Linked DNA regions of Homo sapiens: regions 1 and 3 are each linked to region 2. Evidence: promoter capture Hi-C in 16 types of primary human blood cells and fetal thymus (Javierre and others, 2016). All regions are on one chromosome and are shown on one strand. The core of a region is centred on a gene start or on the middle of the fragment in contact, and the rest is flanking DNA. Distances in the headings are between cores, read along the strand shown.

The links. Contacts are between HindIII fragments. The CHiCAGO score rates a contact against its expected background, and 5 or more counts as called.
Region 1: a contact is called between a fragment that was not itself captured here and the fragment with the promoter of HMGA2 in region 2, in 1 of 17 cell types (endothelial precursors). The highest score is 5.1, in endothelial precursors.
Region 3: a fragment that was not itself captured here is called in contact with the fragment with the promoter of HMGA2 in region 2 in 1 of 17 cell types (endothelial precursors); the score reaches 5.6 in endothelial precursors.

What each region holds. Positions count from the first base shown.
Region 1 is chr12:65,964,110-65,968,040 of GRCh38, reverse strand. HMGA2 (high mobility group AT-hook 2) reads right to left here. Exons shown (of 5, transcript NM_003483.6): 5 at 1,750-3,931. Among named protein-coding and RNA genes, the nearest start is that of HMGA2-AS2, 17 kb to the right of the region's middle. The HindIII fragment of the contact is 964 bases long and covers 1,218-2,181 here.
Region 2 is chr12:65,822,184-65,826,202 of GRCh38, reverse strand. HMGA2 (high mobility group AT-hook 2) reads right to left here and starts at 1,720. Exons shown (of 5, transcript NM_003483.6): 1 at 822-1,720. The coding sequence starts at 932. It also overlaps the pseudogene RPSAP52. RefSeq lists an enhancer at 1-600. The HindIII fragment of the contact is 7,944 bases long and covers 1-4,019 here.
Region 3 is chr12:65,985,931-65,989,800 of GRCh38, reverse strand. No RefSeq gene overlaps it. Among named protein-coding and RNA genes, the nearest start is that of MIR6074, 36 kb to the left of the region's middle. The HindIII fragment of the contact is 866 bases long and covers 2,119-2,984 here.

The sequences.
Region 1 (3,931 bases), core at 450-2,949, 140 kb before region 2:
GGAAGAATTTAGGGCCCTGGGAAGGCTGAGATGGGCTTACTCATGGGGTGGAGGCAGATCATCAAGGTGTTGAGTTAGGCTCAAAGGCAAAAACAAGAACCTAACTATCGCAAACTAGGTACAAAGTGGAGTATTGCTCACTGACATGAGGCATTTTCCCATGGGCCGCAACTGGGTCTTGGTATGAGAGTGGAACCAAGGCATGACTGGCTTAGCTTGGGTGGAGTCCCAAATACAGAGGCTGAGGATGGAGGAGAGAGGGTCATATCTGCAGCCATTTCCCTCCTACTTCAGAAGAAAAATTGCCAAGTTTTACAGACGGCTGAACTCAGACCAGGGGTGTAGACCCCTGTTGTTGCCTTTTGACTCCCCCCTCCGGTTGTTGTCTATCTGAATTATGTATTTCAAAAAAATTTTGATTCTTTTCAACTTTTCGTCCACTTTTAGGCCAGAATTCCTAGATCTGAAGAGTACTTGCTCAAGAATGACCTTACCTAACTCTAGAAATTAGTCTTGCTCAATAAAAAGTCATTTCACAGAAATAAAACTAACTTGAAAAGAAGAGCATCAAATCTGCCGTCTTCTCTCTGCCCTTGGGCTTTTTATTTTTAATTTGAGAAACAGAGTTTTGCTGTGTTGCTCAGACTGAAGTGCAGTGGCTATTCAGAGGTGTGATCACAGTGTACTGCAGCCTCCAACTCCTGGACTCAAGTGACCCTCCTGCTTTAGCCTCCTGAGTAGCTGAAACTATAGGAGTGCGCCACTGTGCTGGTCTTGGGCTTCTTATGTTTCACTTCTCTGAAGTTTTGTTACAGTTGGAGTTTGCCTCATATGCCTCCTAGCTGGATGGTATTCATTCCTAAATTCTATTTTTATTTCTGCCTAGACTCCTAAACCATTTACTATTCCTGAATTCACCAGAGAGTTGAGCATCCTCAGCCCATTAAAAGATACATACCCTCCCCACGCTCCCATGTGAAATGCTACATTGGTTGAAACTCATTCTCCCTCTCTGATGGTGACCATAAAGGCTTTTTGTGAGAGGGCCTGTGATTTGTCCTTGGTATTGGCAGGGGCTTCAGGATGCAACCACTTTTCAGGACAACTCAGTAAGGTACTCACAGAATATTGGCTGTGAGAATAAGTGAATGAATTTAGGAATGAAATAATACGTTTAACAAATTTCCTGACAGTAGATGTCTTAAAATTGGCAAGCTTTTCCTAGAAACAAATTTCTCCTTCTAAGAAGCTAAATGAAGAAAATTTGAGTAACAACGGTGATAGTAAAAACCGAAAGTTTTAGCTTTTTAAAAATCCTAGATTTATTCATAATTAGCAACTTAAGTGTCAAGTTGACCTTGAACTTGGTAGAATCATTCTGACTCTGCTAGTAGTTTTTAGAGTTAAAAGGCTCCTATCTAGGAGACTCTTCGTGGCTTTCATTTCTTATTCATCAATCTTCCGGATCTCTTTCCAATGTTACTTCAAAGACGACTAGTGCATTAGTTACTTCCCTTACAAACTTTGTAGGTGCTAGCCTGAAGTAAAAATTCTGTAGTTTGGAGCTACAGCTTGTTCTTCATGTTTCTTCTAAGATTGTCTCTGTAGAATTAAATGTCAAAATCTGAAAGGCGAGCTCAGGGCAGTTGATTGAAGGAGTATGATATGTAAAACACACTTTATGTACATGTGTGCCAAGATGTGTGCAAGGGGTGCAACAAAATGACTTGTGAGTGTCTCCCTCCTTGATCTGTTTTGACCAAACTTTATTACTCATTTAATGGAACTGTAACAAAGAGCAGGAATCAAAACACATGGGGATCACAGAGGCTGTTATGTTTATTGTGCAGAACAGACAGTGATAATACACTAGAGAAATATTTTCAACAAGCAAGCGATTCAAAGTACAATCATAGACAGCAATTCTACATAAAGAACAAAGAATAAAGTTAGAAGACACTCAAAGGAACAGGGAGAAAGTCAACTGCAGTTAAACGTCTTGATACTTTTCTCCTGCAAACATACCTAACTTGCAGAAATGGTAGAAAAGTTAAATGTCCAGTCTTATGTAGCTGCGACCAACAACAGCAAAGAACAGTCCTATAAAATTTATCTCCCACAAAAATAAACTATATATATAAAAATTTTATGATGTTCTTACTGTTCCATTGGCCACAAGCTTTTTTTTTCAGTATGAAAAATGAGGTATACTGGGACTTAAGAGGTAGTAGTGTGTTTTGATTGTACAACATACAGGAAATAAAAGTGTAACTTTACCAGAGATGGAAATCACTCGGTGCACCATGTTTGGCCAACATGAGCAATTGCTTCCATTTTATGAGCTGGCCAATGAGGTTTCTAAAAGGCCCATCCAAAGATATGGAATGCGACTTTTATTTTTATGAGCCACTGTTTATTTGCTTATTTAACGCACAGTTAACAGTAATGTTGAGTTTTAATTCTCTCCATAGCTCCTTTGGTGATTCACAACAGTGAGCGATCTGCCAGTCTCAGAGAGGTATGTGGCCTTTGAAACTACCTCCCTGAAGCAGCTGGAAGAGAGATGGTTTTGAGTTTCATTTGGCTTCAGTACTAAAAGCCATACTGACAAAAGCCGTCATGAGAAACTACCTCCTGGCCCAGTTGATAATACCATGTTAAAAAGTCAGCACACTCACTAGGAGAGAAAGGCATAAAAACTCTACATAAGAAGCGTTTAAAATAAATCTGGTTGAGACATATTACAAAAATCACATTTGTGTAAAATACATGAAAATATTTGTCAAGCATTTTCTTATATTCAACTAATCTTAAAAACACATATTTTTGATTGCATTATGCAAAAGCAGGGCTTGTTGCATCTCACCTACAAAGCTTCAAGTTTCTTTGAAGGTTGGCTTTTATTTTATTTATTATTTACTTATTTTGCAAAAGTATGTAAAAACGTGTTCCTTTCTATCAAATGTCTTTTACAAAAATAGTTTTGACTAGGGTTAGCTGCAGTTTGAACTATTTCAAACATTGAAAAAACAAATGAATGCTGCAAGTAACAAGTTCATTCCTTTTGAAGTCTGGAGGTAGGTCTTTGCAAGTCAATTAGTCCATCTCCTTAAAGAATTCATTTGAGGTACAGACTTGGAGGGTAATATTTAAATATTACAGTCAAATCTTGTGTGATGTGTAGTGTGATTGAGGAAAATTATCCTTAAGAACCTAGGAGCGACTTGGTTAAAAAATTTTCAAGTTAATGTAGAAATCTAGCAGAGAAGCTGAAACAAGTATTTTAAAAATTTTTAATTAAAAAAACATAGAAAAATACATAGTCATGCTGAAACACAGTAAGGAGATTGCTTCTTTAACTGTAATTAAGTGTACAAAAAGAACTGCAGATGATTAGAATCACCTACCCAGTAAGTTTTTTTCTTGCATTGCTTGTGTATAGCAGCATGTAATAAGTACTAGACTGTAAATTCGTTGTAACATTCAGAGGTAGTATTGAGTAGTGGGGATATATTGCATCTCTGGCTAAAAGTGCAGTTTGAATGAAGAGATGGTGAACTCAAGCCGAAGAAAAGCACCTTGGTCAACCATCTTATGTCAAAACGTATTACTTGAAGTAACACATATGCTTAATTTGAGGTAAGTGGTATTCAGGTCTTTCATGGAAACTGATACACAATGAAAAGAGAGAGGGAGAGGAAGAGAGAGAGAGAAAGACACAGAGAGAGATTGCCCCCCCCTTTTTTTTTTTTGCTTTTTAAATTGATGTATAACTATAGCAAAAGAAATTTAGATTTCGCTCCTCCCACCTCATAATTAGGTGAGTTCATCATGCATTATTCTGTTGTACCTTTTCATTAAATTACAAAGAGGATAATTTTACTTGTCTAGTTTCCTTAAATGCTCTGAGGCTGACAAGTGTTATTTATTG
Region 2 (4,019 bases), core at 471-2,970:
TTTAATGGCTGCAGCTCTGAGGCGCGAGATCCAGGGGCAAAAGGGGGACCGGGCCCCTGACAAGGAAGCGACCCTGGCTACCCTGCACTCTCTTGGACACTCCTTTCAACGCGCCCTTAGCTGGGCGAGTTAACCCCGTCCTGCGGGGAACCAGGCTCCCCGTAGCCCCTGCCCCGGGCTCCCTCCGGCGGCCGCCGCATATTTAAAGAGCCCAAAAAGGACCAGGCAGCCGGGTCTCCATGCGTTCTTTGTCGGGAGGGCGCGAGTCTTGGGCCACCGAGAGCTTGGAGGAGGGCGCCAAGGGGGCGGCTGCGGCGCGCCAGCCCCCGACCCGCGAGCAGCCCCGGGAGGCGGGAGAAAGAGCCTCCGGCCCCCAAGACTCTAGCCCCTTCAGCCCAGATCGGCCGAAGCGCCCGGGTCCCCGGCACCTCCTTCCTCCCGGGCAGTTGCAAAAGCAACTCGGAAAGCGCCTGCGAGCCCGGGTTTGTCGGATCCCGGTCGCTTCCAGTCACTGGGCGACACCGCGCCACTCGGGGCCGTGCACAATAGCGAAAGTCCGAGGACGCGCTTCGCCCGACCCCACCTCCCGCCTTCCCCGGGCCGCCCGCCGCGGCTCCCCACCTCCCCGCCCGGAGGGTTGCTGGCGCCCCGGGGCCGCGCGGCGCACTCGTGGGGTCTGCGCCGCTCCCCCCGGCCGGCCGGCGGGCAGTGTGCGACGGCCGCGGCGACTGGGCTCCCGCACTCCGGCCGCCCCGCGCGTGTCTGGGCCCCGGCAGTGGGGACGGGGTGGGCTGGTGCCCCCACCGCGCCCTCGTACTGACTTGCTGCTGCTTCCTGGGGCGGCCGCGTCCTCTCTTCTGAGGCGCTGGGGCGGCAGGTTGTCCCTGGGCTGAAGTGGACGGCTGCCCCGCGCCCTCACCGCGTGCGCTCATCCTGCCTCCCGCCGCCGCTACCGCCGCTGCAGCCGCTTCGCCTCGACCGCCCCGGAGCTGCCCAGCACCTTTCGGGAGATGAGGTGATAGGGCTGGGGACGCCGGCGGGGCGAGCGCGAGCTGGCGGGCTGCGAGGGCTGCTGTTGCTTAGGCTGCCGCCGCTGCCACCATCAACACCGGACGTCCAGCGGCTGCCAAAAAGAGAAGAGGGGAGGAGGAGGAGGAGAGGAGGAGGCGCTGCCGGTGGCGGCGGCGGCGGTGGGTGGGTGCCGGAGGTGGAGGTGGCGGTGGAGGTGGAGGTAGCAAGAGGAGGAGGGAAGCGAGGGAGAAGGAAGAGAGGCTTTGAGGTCGCAGAGGCTCCTCTCGCGGGTTGGGATCAGGAGTTGCGGGCACCGGGAGCACTTCGGAAGCGGCTTGGAAAGGGAAGAGACTTGGAGTGAATTGTGTCCCTTGAAATGTTAGGCGGGGAAAGAATTCCTCCTCCTCTTCCCCCCACCCTGCGAGAGAGAGAGAGAGAGAGAGAGAGAGAGAGAGAGAGAGAGAGAGAGAGAGAGAGAAGAGATTGAGATTGAAAGTGCCTTGGGCAGTCGGAAAGCAAAGGAGGATGGGGAGACTCCGCCGGGATAGGGTCGGGCACGGAGCACAGGCAGAGGACAGAGTAGTGGGTGGCACCGCGCCTCCTAGGGTGGCGGGAGCAGGCAGCGGCGGCACCGGAGAGTCGGAGGGGGACGGGCTGCTAGCTCCTGAGTCTTGCACCAAGCGCGCGCTGCCCGGGCTGGAAGTTTTCTGAGTTCCTGCCCCAAGATTCAAGTGGGATGAGTGTGTGTGAGTGTGTGTGAGTGTGAGTGTGTGTGGTGTGTGTGCGTGCACGCGCTTGCGCTTGGGGAGGGGGTGGTGGTGGGGGGAGTGCCCACCTCTAATCGTGGGCGGATAAAGGGGAGGGGGTTGCGCAGGAAGAAAAGTATGAGGAGGAGGGAGGCCAGGCGGACCGCCGAGCCAAGGCGCCTGGCTGCTAGCCAGAGGCAGCGTTCGAAATACAACTGCCTCGGCGGCGGCGGCGCCCGGGTGCCACCCGGAGCCCCGCTCACGTGCTCCCGCCCGGCGGCGGGGTTAAAGGGACAGGCCGGGGATCCCGGGCTGGCTCGCCGTGGGCCTAGCTCCACCCGCCTCTCGAGGTCACCCCTGGGCAGTTGTCCTGGGAAGGCGCGGGAACGTGACTGTCCCGGAGCCACGTTTCGGGGCTTGGCCTTTACCTGCGCCTCTACCGTGCCGAGCCAACACTTTGCAGGAAGCGTCTAGGCTGCACCTCAGGCAGCGCACCGGTTCACTGTGAGTGGGAAGGGACTGCAGTGGAGTGGGAGAGGTCCCCTGACAGCCGTACTCCGCCTCGGAATGCCCTCACCACAGAGCCTGCGGGCGGGCGAGCGCGCACATACACGGAGACATGCATGCAGATACACACGAACACGCGTGTAAGCACATGCACGCAGATACACGTGGACACGGGGGCATTCATGCGCTGGTAAACACCCGCATTTACACACACACACATACACACAGGCACGCAGATAGACATGCACATTCGCAGACACATGCAAACAATGTGCACACACAGAGCGCCCCAGCTTCTTCATTGAACTTTTTTCTCCAGGAAAGACTAGAGGCAACCGAAGTTCCCTCCCCATCCCCCTCCCCGGGAATCCGATGTTCCCAGGGTAAAGGGCACCTTGTAGATTCCTAACACCACAATTGCACTCACTGCCCAACTCTCCCTTCAGTTTACCTCGATTTAACCTTCTGCCTGAGAACTCTCTTTCTGCCAAGTCCTAATTTTATGGCCTGGGCTGTTCTGAGTTATGTGAACACCATAATGGCCACAGTCCGTTTTTAAAAGGTGGAGTACATTTTTAAATGTACCTCTTTTCATCCTTGAATAACACAAAACTCTGAAAAAATTAGGTTCAGATTTTCACACATCACACCCAAAATTATTTTGGACTAATTCCAAAATAAAAACTTTCACCTGGGGAAGAATTTATTTTTTTCAAAGATACAGACCACCGTGGAATAAAAACGCCTACTTTGCAGCCCTAAGCAGGAGTTAGGCACCGCCAGGTTCCGCTGTGCATGTGGAGGAGGCGCGTGTAAATGTCTGCTTTGGCGCGGCAGCGCTGATTGGTCCGCGTTGCCATTTTAAATCCATTTCCAGCTGCCCTTTGCAGAGCTGGGACACTTTGCTGCACGTTGAGTGCTCTGCAGGAACCCAGGGTTTCTGCTGGGTCTGGGAACGCTTAGCTGTAATGGAGAGAGAGAGCCTCCATCCCTCCGGATGGAGCCCAGCAGCTGACTGGGGAGGGAGGGGTCTAACAGGAACCAAAGGTTTTCTGTCAGGGCTTGGCTCAAAGATGGTATCTTCATCAAAGGGATTGAAGTTTCACCTAACGATTACAGTGACATTTCCTAACTGCCAATCGTGCACATTTAAAAACTATCACATATTTGCACTGTGGTGTGCACATTTCACATACACGTACAAAATAGGTTTTTGGGTTTGTGTTGTTTGCTCACTTTTTGCCAGGAGTAGAGAGAAATTCTGAAGGTGAATGCAGGGGAGTCACTGAGGAGTTCAGCCAGCCAGTTTTGTGCTGTATACCTCATTATATCCTAGGATTTTTTTTTTTTTGGTAACGTGTACAGAGGTCAGCAAAGAGCAGATTCCAAAATTTTGTTTTTGCGTTAATCTTTGAATATAAGAGAAGCACAGAAAAATTGGGGGTGGGGGAATATACAGCCACTTGTTTTCAGGCTGCTATCATTTTGCTATTAGACTATTTGACCCCTTTTGAATTTATAACAAGGGTATAAAACAAATATTGTATCAAGTTCTACTTAAATCAATTTTATATATTTTCATTCTTTGGAAGCTGTATTTAATTTTTCAGAATTCTGTATACTTTCTGTAGGTGAAACATTAAAATTTGTTGTAATCTTTGAAATTATTGAGACTTTTACTATTCAAAAAGGATTCTCATATATTTTTAAAATAATGTTAAATGGTTAGATTTTATTTTTAAGGAAAGGAATTTT
Region 3 (3,870 bases), core at 1,302-3,801, 160 kb before region 2:
CTCTTTTGCGTGGCATTATCTGACATTTTTGACTTTGGGGGGTATCAGAAATTACTTTGCATTATAAGAGAGGTTTGGTATGTAGTAACTAGGTTGGAAATATACTTTTGGGGTTAGCTAATGGCGATTATGGGGAGATACTTAGCTCTGCATGTTTGGATAAGAGAAGCATGCTCTTGGCCACCTAGAAATTATGGAAATGTCCCCACCCCCAACTGAGAGATAAGAATCCCATGGGAGATGAGCTGATCCCCTCTTTTGGGGATCCAGGATCTGTTATAAAAATGGGAATGGGACCCTTACTTTCTGGAGATCTGATTTGCCTTCCAGCTGTGTCTGTTTATTATATTGGGCTGTAGAAACTGCATGCTTTCCTGGTCCTGTCTCTCCAAGGACTCCACCCTAAAGCCAGTAATCCAGTTAAAAAACTTAAAAACTGGCAAAGGAAAAATCTTACAACTACTGGATCTTCTTCTGTCTATCTGTATAGTTATATATATGTTGTATGTGTGATGTTTATATAAAAGAGCTCTAACGAATTGGCTTAAAGAAAAATAAGCATTTAAAGAAAATTTTTTGAAAGAAAAATAAAAATTTTAAGGCTTTTTAGTTCATGTAACCTTAGTAATCTTTGGGAAATAAAAAGTTTAAAAGATTATTGGTAAAATAAAGACTTTTGTTCTAAATTAGGCAGGTCAGATATTAGGTTTGCTAAATGCTTTAAGGTCATAAACTGCTTTGACTTTTGAAAATTGTTCAATTTACCTACCTTGGAGACATTAGATTCTAGATAAGGCCTGGGAACATGTGGAATTAGCCATGCCCCTTAGCTATGCAAAGAAGATTATAAAGAAAAGAAATTTTATGAAAGAAAGGATCTTGTATGGTAAATTCTTGTCCTAAAGTAAAATAACTAGTTTAAAAAAGGGATGTTTAGGACAAGTGAGAAAGTCCAAGGATGTTGTAGATGATCTGTGCAAGTCATGAAAAGACTTGTGAAAGGAAATTTATGCACCAAAAATAAAAGTTGCTAAGAGTTACCATTATCACATGTAATTGAGATACTGAAAAAACAGTTTTATATTCAAGGTGTGTAAGGAAAGTGAAATATGCTTTTGGTAAAAAAAAATTATAAGAAGGCATAGGAATGTAAATTTTTACCCAGTTTAGAGGGTTAAAGGATTGTTTTAAATTAAATAAGACAAAGCTAAAGGTTTGGGCCAGGTGCGGTGGCTCATGCCTATAATCCTAACACTTTAAGAAGCCAAGGCATGCAGATCACTTGAGGTCAGGAATTCAAAGACCAGTCTGGCCAACATGGTGAAACCCCATCTCTACTAAAAATACAAAAAATTAGCTGGGTATGGTGGCATACACGTGCTATTGTGGAGGCTGAGGTGGGAGAATTGCTGGGAGGTGGGAGAATTGCTGGAACCTGGGAGGCAGAGGTTGCAGTGAGCCAAAATTGTGCCGTTGCACTTCAGCCTGGGTAACAGAGTGAAACTCTGCCTCAAAAAAAAAAAAAAAATGCTAAAGCTTTGAGCAAGTTGTGGAAGGTGTGTAAAATTAATTGTAAAACGTTCTGTTTGTAACCATATTGGCTAAAGTTAAAGGGGGTATTATCCAGTTTTTCTGTAAATTGAACATTAAAATAAAAGCATAACAGGTTTTTCTTAGAGTACTGATCTGGTCTTTAACAAAAATTGTAAAGGGTTATAAAGGTTTATGAGAATCTCACCTTTTGGCCAAACTGATTAAATTGATAAATTTGTCTATAAGTGTTATTAAAAATTGGGGTTGACATTAATAGTAGATTAATGGAAGTGTGAAGTTTGGTTCCCTCTCAAACAAAATTTTCAGGTAATATCAAAGGATAATGAAAGACTTTTGTTTGCCTTTTGAATAAGGCAAACAAATAAACTACTGAATAACTACTGAATAAACTACTGAAAAAAGAAGGGAAAGACAAGGGACAGATTATTTGGAAAGCTAAATCTTCCCTCTATCAATATGTAAAGGTTTTTGCCTTAAAAATTTTTTTAAACTCATTATTTTGGCTAAATGAATGGCTTGTGGTGACCTGCAATTCTATCTCATAATATCAAGTGTTTTAAAGCTTTAACATATTGAAAGACTTCCCAAAATCAAATTTCAGCTGCAAAATTGTCTTTTCTGACCTCTAACTTTGGGATGCTACATAGGGCCCCTGAAGCAACTGAAAAAGAGGTAAACAAGATTATTTGGTATGTTAAGTTACATAGGAAGTATTGTCAAAATAAGAAATAATGTTTATAGGTTTTAGGTTATACATCTTTAGGTTACATTCTAGTGTATATCATCAATATGTCCCAAAATTGCATGGGATTTCTAAAATTCTAATATGTCTATATGCTATCAATTATAATTATGGTTATTATGTTGTTATTGTAGACCACAGAAAGAACCAAATTTCCTTGTCAATTGTATTTTTTACTATGACTATTTAAAGTTATTTCCAGTTAATTGGTTAATGCTGGTGCAGTTTCTGAAAACTTCATAAGCATACAAAATCCTAGAATATGCTGATGTTTTTTAGGAGGTTCATGAAAGGATAGAAAGAACCTTGAAAAGCACTCCTGAATACAGGTTTCTGATAACTTTAGAATCATATCATTTGGACTGGGTAAAAATTCCTGGAATGTTACAGAAAAGACTGACTGGGTTATAAAACTACTAACCCATGTAGAACAAAAATTAATTAAATACCAAGAAAATACTTTGCCAGATTTTCATCCTAAATCAGCCAATACTGAAATTGTTTATATATGCAATTTGAATGAGCTCCGTGGTCTAAGTCAAATTACCTGTGGTAACCTATCAGTTATCAGTGCTATGCACCTAAATTGGAAAAACAACTGGTGTTCAAGAGAACATAAGTCCAATGTTAAGGATGGATACTTGGAGGACCAGGACAGCTGCCTTGTCCTTCCTGAGCCCTTAAAGCTTTTGTTATTAAAAGTCCTGCATTCCATAACTCATCATGGAAAAGATAAAATAATCAAAATTAAATATATTGGTGTGGTAACTTATAAATTGATAAATAGTGTATAACCAGTGTTTGGTTTGTCAAACCCATATTCCTGGGAAAACAATCAAAACTTCAGGTACATTTGGTTACCTGATGGTCCATTTAAACATTTTATAAAGGGATTTCATTCAATTGTCATTTTCAATGCATGTTTTCTGGTTATAGAAAAGTTCTCTCATGCAAGAGGACTGATGTTGTAACAGTACGTTATTATGCTACATTGTAATTTCACCAGCTAAAGAAAGCTTTTTATGTTTTACTGAGGACAGTCAACTCCTTCACAAACTAGAACCTGAAAACGGGATCTTCTGAAAATATCAGGGAAAGACTGCCCTTGCCATTTACACTACAACAAGACTTTGGACACTTGAACTTTGGGTTCATAATGTCACAACTGAGAAGGGTCCCTCCACACTCTTGGAACTGTACACCCGCTGGAATCCTTAAGGTAAAGCTAACCAGGAAAGTTTCTCTCCAGAAGATGGCATCCTTGATGTGAGCAGCTTTTCCCGAGATCATGGATCAAGACTTCTCTACTCTCATGAGACTCTTATCTTTGAATTTTTTCTCCTTGTTTATGTGTCTATGAACAATAGAAATGAAAAGGGGGTCTGTTGTGTGCACTTATGGGTTATGCTTTTATTTGTGAAGGGTTTTGCAACCAGCCGTATACATGGATAACCTTATACTTTGATAGATAAAAAAATGAAGGCCTGGCTGGGGCAATGGCTCACGCCTGTAATCCCAGCAGTTTGGGGGCCAAGGTGGGTAAATCACAAGGTCAGGGGATCAAGACCATCCTG